Regions from separate parts of the Homo sapiens genome. Here region 1 is linked to region 2. The links are contacts of gene promoters, found by promoter capture Hi-C in blood cells and fetal thymus (Javierre and others, 2016). All regions are on one chromosome and are shown on one strand. The core of a region is centred on a gene start or on the middle of the fragment in contact, and the rest is flanking DNA. Distances in the headings are between cores, read along the strand shown. Region 1 overlaps FADS2 (fatty acid desaturase 2). Region 2 holds the start of BEST1 (bestrophin 1).

Region 1 (3,666 bases), core at 1,156-3,655, 110 kb after region 2:
GAGTCACCATGGCCCTCAGCATAGGCACACCTGCCTTGTCACCCTGTAGCCTCAGAGCACTGAGCAGAGAGGAATCCTGGTCCCTCTGTCTCAACTGCTGTCCAACAGGACAGATGCCCAGGGCTGCTGACACTTACCTTTAAGTGGCCAATGACGAATTTGTGGACAAGGTGGTTCCACTTGGGTTTTCTGTAGACAGACAGGTGGCCATAATCATGTTGCAGCCATCCAGCTTGGGCCTGGGGAGAGAGGGTCACACGTGCTGTCACAGCCTCAGCAAACAGGCACCAGGCCTCTGTCAGCTAGGGGAAGTGAGGGTGTCACGCCTCACCTGAGAGGTAGCAAGGACAAAGGCCGTGATGAGGGTAGGAATCCAGCCATTGCCAAAGTAAAAGACAGTGAACCATGCAATGCTCTCCAGGGCGATGATGTGGGCCAGGAGGAGGAGGAAGAACACGTGGTTGGTCTTGAACAGGTTCATGTCCTCAGCCGTCTTCCTCAGGGCCCGGAAGTCCTCAGTGATCTTTGACTGTTGACCAAGAGCACAGGGAAAGGAGTCAGCCACCAGCCACTCTGGAGGGAACATATGTCTCGAGCTGCCATTTCAACAGCCAATGCACAACCCAGAGAAGCTGTGGCAAGAGGGGGCCAAGCCACAAGCCTCGACCCTCCAGGAGTCCCTACAATAGCTGCTGTTACCACATGCCCCACACAGCCCTGGGGCCTGTATATTTGTCACAGCTAGGTAAGAGTGACAGAGAAAGGCTTTGACTCAAAAGCTTGCATTTTATACACCCTGTGTTCATAGCTCTATTCACATCAGGAAAAAGGTAGAAACAACACAAAGATCTCGTGATGGATGAATGGATCAGCAACACGTGGTCTATCCATGCAATGGAATATTACTCAGCCTTGAAAAGGGAGGAAATTCTGACACATGCTACAATGTGAGTGAACTTTGAAGACATCATGCTAAGGGAAACAGGCCAGTCACCAAAGGACAAATATTGTATGATTCCATATACAGGAGGTCCTTGGAGAGGCCAAATTCAGAGACAGAAAGTAGAATGGTGCCTGCCAGGGGCTGAGAGGTGGGAGAATGAGGAGTGAGTGCTTAATGGATGTGGAATTTCAATTTGGGGAAGATGAGAACTGGATGGTGGTGATGGTTACATAACAATGTAAATGTGCTTATTTGATGCCACTGAACTGTACACGTCAAATGACCAAAATGGTTGACCACACTTTTTTAAAAAAGAAAACTTTAATCCCAGCACTTTGGGTGGCCGAGGCAGGCAGATCACCTGAGGTCAGGAGTTCGAGACCAGCCTGGCCAACATAGTGAAACTCCATCTCTACTAAAAATACAAAAATTAGCCAGGCATGATGATGGGCACCTGTAATCCCAGCTACATGGGAGGCTGAGGCAGGAGAACTGCTTGAACCTGGAGGCGGAGGTTGCAGTGAGCCGAGATGGTGTCACTGCACTCCAGCCTGGGTAACAAGAGCAAAACTCCATCTCAAAAAAAAAAAGAAAGAAAGAAAAGAAAAGAAAAATAAAACTTGCATTTTCCACCACCAAACAGAGCACCACTTGCTCTGCGCACACTGTTGGGTCTTGAGGGGTTGAGTTGGGGGCGACACAAACTAGCGCAGGAGGGCGAGCTGAGGCAGGCAGGAGGGGGCTGTGAGTCCCGGGCACATGGAGCCAGGGAGGCAAAGCGGAGTCAAGGAGGGCCCTGGGAACACAATGGCATTGCGAGGAAGAAGGAACTTGGGACAAGAGGCAGGGGCAGGGCCGGACGGGGAGGAGAGTGGATACAAGGAGAGGAGCGGTACCCACAGGGCATGACCAAGGTGCTATGAAGGGTGGTTCTGGTGGTGCCTGGTGGGAGCTTGGATGCTAAATGGTGCAGGATCTGCAGCAGAAAGGGAGAGCAGTGGAGAGAGCCAAGGAGCAAGGCCATGGACAAGGGAGCTACAGGGCAGGACGAGCAGAGCTGGGGAAGCCGCAGGCCAGGAGGTGCTGGAGGTGAGAGTGGGAGATGGACCCACTTGCGAAGGAGGCAGGAGGGGACAAGCATGGGCTGGCATGGGTACAGGGCAGGTGATCTCATGTGCCATGGAGGGCAAGGTGAGAGGAGGGGCATTGGCCTTTGAAGGACCTGCAGGGTGGCCCGCAGCTCATCAGGAAAGCCAGAGGCAATGGGGGTGGTGGGGGACTGGCCAAGAGTCCAGGCCGGGAGAGACCCTGGTCCTGCCCTGGCTCTGCTAAACAGAGGGGTCTGGCCCAGGCTGGCAACAAGAGGAGGAAGAGCTTGCTGAGGCCAGGGTGGGACTTCCATGACCACCCTGGTCACAGCCTGTGGGTACCACTCCTCTCCTTGTAACAACTCTCCTCCCCGTCCTGCCCTGCCCCTGCCTCCTGTCCCAACTTTCTTCTATAAACGGCTCCGCCATTTACATGGAGACTTCATTGTTGAACAAAACAACAGCCCATGAGACCTCAGGGGTTGCTATTTTCACACATGGCTGTCCTGGAAGCCCAGCACCCAGGGGGGCGTCTGACCTGCAGACAATGAACAGATGACCAGGGAATGGTCATTCTTTCTCAAAGAGGTGCCCCGGACCACACACCCCAAAGCCACTCTTGTCATCAAATGACATTTTTCGGTGTTTCTGTCCTGTCTTTCCCCTAGATTGTCATCTGGCACCTTCCTGGAAAGGGATGGAGGAGAAGGAAAATGAAACTGGCCAGGAGAGAGGAGACGCCACTAGTTGTTGTCAAACCCCGGCTCCCAGGGAGGCTCTGAGGCCCTCCCTGAACACAGGTGAACCACAGTGGCTCCTCCAGGACAAAAGCACCCCTGCCTCAGCCCCAGTTACTGGTCATGGGGCAAGGGGAGCCTCTCTCAGACTCCCAGCCACCCCCAGCCTCGTCTCCACCCCCACCCAGGTTGCAAGCCAGACTTACGTTCTTGCCGTGGTCCTGGCTGGGCTCCTCCGGGGCCAGTTCACCAATCAGCAGGGGTTTCAAGAACTTGCCCACGAATTCCAGGTCAGGGTGGAAGGCGCGGAAGGCATCCTGGAGAGCAGAGGGCAGTGATGAGGCTAAGACCTGAACTCTGTCTGCTCTTGGGCCCCAAGGAGGACAGTGCTCACCAGCAACAGCTCCATGTGTGCACCCAGACACCAAACGGGGTCTCCTGTGATCTGGCCCCAAATGCCGTCTCCAGCATTTTTCCAGGACAGAGCCCTCAGTGCCCAACGCCAATGGCAACAGCCACCTGGGCTTCTGTGCTGGTGCAGGCATGCTACACTCCCCAGGGGTTTGTGAATAGATGCATAGGCTGCCTTTGGGCAGGTCGGGAAATGGTGACCCTCCAGGAAGGCGCACCAGGCAGACACGGGGCTCAGGGAGGACTTGAGCCTCGACTGCTCGTGAGCTGAGTGCCTTGCATGGTGCACAAACCACACCACCCACCATCTCTTACTAGTTCCTCACCTACATGTCCAGGGTGGTCAATGAAAAGGACAAGACCGAATACTACCTTGGCACTGGAAATGTGCTGTGATGAAGTAAATAAAAAAATAAACACAGAATTATGTAAAAAGCGTTCCTGAAAAAAAGCCTAGGAGGATCTAGGCTATTATTGCACATGTTAA
Region 2 (3,790 bases), core at 52-2,551:
AAGTGGTCTCCAAGGCCCTGCCAGTTCTGACTGCCTTTTGGAAGTAGAAACGCAAGAAAGTGAGCCCAGAGGCTGCCCTTTGCTTTGGCAGGGAAGACGTAGATAGGCGTGTGCATTGCCATGTGCCTTTAACTTTCTATAATCACTGGGCGCAGTGGCTCATGCCTATAATCCCAGCACTTTGGGAAGTCGAGGCAGGTGGATCACCTAAGGTCAGGAGTTCGAGACCAGCCTGGCCAACATGGTGAAACCCTGTCTCTACTAAAAATACAAAAAAATTATCCAGGCGTGGTGCGGGTGCCTGTAATCCCAGCTACTCAGGAGGCTGAGGCAGGAGAATCGCTTGAACCCAGGAGGTGGAGGTTGCAGTGAGCTGAGATCACGCCATTGCACTCCAGCCTGGGTAAGAAGAGCAAAACTCTGTCTAAAAATAAATAAATAAATAAATAAATAATACAATGACAAAGGCAGTAACAGCAGCAATGTCTACACACTAAGCTCAGGTCCTCTGGGCTAGGCAGTGTTCTCAGCCCATCTTGTTCGTTAGCTCCCAAGCTCTCTCAACCACCCTAGTGTGAGAAGTATGGAAGGGACCAGGCAGCCCTGTCCACCACCATATTCCCATTCCCATAATGGAACCTAGCTGGTAGAGATGCTCAAATGATGTTTACTGAATGGTGGCTCCAGGGCCTTTCCACCTGCTGATCTTCCTGCCTGGAGGAAGCTCTTCCTGAGATACCTGCATGGTTCCTTCCCACTCCAGGTTCCCTTTAGAAAGGATGTTCCCAACCATCCAACCTGGAAATAGAGCCCCACTGCCACCGGTGCTCTGTGTCTCCTCACCTTGCTTGATATTTCTAGAGAGCACTTATCACTACTTGAAATTATACAGGATATCTGCCTGTTTCCTGCCTGTTTCCTCCTCAGAATGGAAGCTCCTCTTGTGTTCTCGTAGAAGGCGCTCAATAAAAATTTACTGAAGCAGTGATTGATGCCCCCTCCATTCTTTCCCTGTGTGTTTTGCTGCAGCCACACTGGCTGGCTGTGCCTGATGCACACCAAGCTCATTCCCACCTCAGGGCATTTGCACAGACACACAGGTGCCCACACACCTGCGCATGTGCTGCCTGTGTGTGCATATCCCACACAAATACGCAAGATGGCCATCCAACCCTGAAGGCCTCAAAGCCCCAGCCCAGTCCACCTGGGGCACCTTGTACTCACAGGTGGGGTTCCAGGTGGGTCCGATGATCCCACAGAAGGTCTGGCGACTAGGCTGGTGGGACTCCCTGGGACTCTGTGGCCAGTGCCCCTGCCCACTCTTAGAGGCTGGCACTGCCCACGTGAGTGCTGAGCCGCCGTCACTTGACTCCCTAAGCCAGGACCTCCACAAAGGAGTCCTTGTCTTAGTCCCTTCTTGTAATCTGCTCAGAAGCAACGGCTAGCACAGCCTGGCCATGGCCCCTCTAATTTCTTCTTGGAGGGTGTTGGGCTGAGACCAGGGCTGGAATTTAGGGCAACACCCCCTCTACCATGGCCCTAAAATCCAGAGGCTAAAGGATCTGCTCCACCAGTGTTCTGACCCCTGAGGCCTTGCAGAGAGAGTTGGGGGTTAGGGGGCTGTGCTGAGCTTCAACTTCTGTGCCAGGAACTCTCCAGGAAGGAGGAGCCTCTGACTAGGCCCTGGGGTCTTTGACAGCCCTGTGGGCTATGGAAAGAATGAATACCGGGCTGCAGTCAACAGTCCTGGTTTCTGGTCCCAGCCTTGCCACCTGTGTGTGGTGACCCCGGGTAGGTTTCAGCTCCTCTCTCAGCCTCAGTGCCCTTATCTGAAAAGGATGGTGTTGCTTGGGAATTTCATCACCCTAGTAAAATGACAGAATTCTGCATATGCTGACGAGGAGCTCTGATTGGCTGCTGGTGACATCATACGTTATTCTGGCTGTGATTGGCTGGCAGGGCCCATCAGTAAGTTGCTTCAGAGAGATGGAAGGAGAAGCCTGCCGGGGCTGGTGGAGGGGGGTGAGTCTGGTGGGGGTTGACAGAACAGCCCTGGAGTTTATGCTGCTGGCTTCCAGCCAGCCAGTGCAATATGGGAATAAATGCCCAGATCCCCACGGGCAGCTGGTGAAAATCTCAGCATGTGATTCAATAAATTTTAATACATCAATCCATACTCAAGGGCTCTCCTAAGCTGTTGGAAGTGGTGGGTGTCTACCTACACACTCCTCTTGTATTGTTCAATGAAGAGAGCAGAGCTCTAGGCAGCAGTGGTTCTTGGTCTTTAGAGGCCGTAAGAATCGCCCAAATGTTTATTAAACGGGCAGTTTTCTGGATCTTTCTCCAGAGTCTGAGTCTGTGGCCTTAGGGATGTTGCATTTTAATCAAGCACTGCAGGGGATTATGAGATGTGTGGTTTTGGGACTAAACTTCCAGAAGCCCTGATTTTATAATATGACCTTGTGTCTTAAACCCACTCTCATCCTCCCTTTCCTGTCACCCTCTCTCTCTGAAATGTACTAAGCGTTAACTATGCTGAGATTGCAGGTGATTTTTCTACACACCACTTTTTTTTTCACTTTAAGTTCTGGGATACGTGTGCAGAATGTACAGGTTTGTTACATAGGTATACATGATGTGCAGGTTTGTTACATAGGTATACGTGTGCCATGGTGGTTTGCTGCACCTGTCAACCCATCATCTAGGTTTTAAGCCTTGCGTGCATTAGGTATTTGTCCTAATGCTCTCCCTCCCCTTGTCCCCCACCCCCACACACCATTTTTGCCTTTATATAATTATCTGCCTAGAAAAAAAAACACTATTTCGCAATGACCTTGAATACTTTTCTAATCATGGCAAACAATAAAGCTGTTGTTATTATAAGACTCTCTTTAGAGGCAGCCTTGTAGGAGTATTTACTGCCTCCCCGCTGCCCCATCGCTGTCCTCAACTGATATGGGGAAAGAAGCAGGTTCACTTCAGCCTCAGTCTCCTCATATGCAAAATGGGACAACGATGCCTACCTTGGCAGCCGAATGAGAATGATGGATGGGACATGTGTCCGTCAACTCTCCAAACCACTGGTGCCTGTGCCTGACCCCTACGAATTCTGATTTGATTGGTCTGGATGGACCCCAGGTGTTGGGATTGTTCAAGTTCTCCAGGTGATTCTGATTTTATGGCCTGTGCTGAGTCATTGCTTAATGGATTATTTCCCTATCCTGTATTCCCTTCCCAACCAACACATCCTGAAACTCAAGAGCTTTCCATTTAGAAGATGATAAATATATATTATATATATTTATATATTAACATATGTAAATATGTATTAATATGTCTATAATATTACAAATATATTTGTATGTACACATATATTTATACATATAAATATATAAGTAAATATATAACTATATTTTTGAGACAAGGTCACCCAGGCTGGAGTGCAATGGGTGTGATTTTGGCTCATTGCAACCTCCACTTCCCAGGCTCAAGCAATCCTCCCATCTCAGCCTCCCAAGTCGCTGGGACTACAGACGCACACCACCACACCCAGCTATTTTTTTTTTTTTTATAGAGATAGGGTCTCACTACATTACCCAGGCTGGTATTGAGCTCTAAGTTCAAGCAGTCCTCCCACCTAGGCCTCCCAAAGTGGTGGGATTACAGGAGTGAGCCGCCACACTCGGCCAATAAGTATGTTTTAACTAAAGTTAACACACATGCCTGGCACCATGCCTGGAACATTGATGCTCATTCTGTACTCTCTGAAGGAATAAATGAAAATCCTGCC

What was found. The method cuts DNA at HindIII sites, captures the fragments that hold promoters and counts their contacts. A CHiCAGO score of 5 or more calls a contact.
Region 1: a contact is called between a fragment that was not itself captured here and the fragment with the promoter of BEST1 in region 2, in 6 of 17 cell types (neutrophils, naive B cells, endothelial precursors and 3 more). The highest score is 10.2, in neutrophils.

Annotation. Positions count from the first base shown.
Region 1 is chr11:61,837,197-61,840,862 of GRCh38, reverse strand. FADS2 (fatty acid desaturase 2) reads right to left here. Exons shown (of 12, transcript NM_004265.4): 2 at 2,975-3,085; 3 at 332-529; 4 at 138-239. Among named protein-coding and RNA genes, the nearest start is that of FADS2, 11 kb to the right of the region's middle. RefSeq lists an enhancer at 1,573-2,130. The HindIII fragment of the contact is 3,248 bases long and covers 782-3,666 here.
Region 2 is chr11:61,947,862-61,951,651 of GRCh38, reverse strand. It overlaps BEST1 (bestrophin 1), which reads right to left and starts at 1,301. Exons shown (of 11, transcript NM_004183.4): 1 at 1,225-1,301. The HindIII fragment of the contact is 17,311 bases long and covers 1-3,790 here.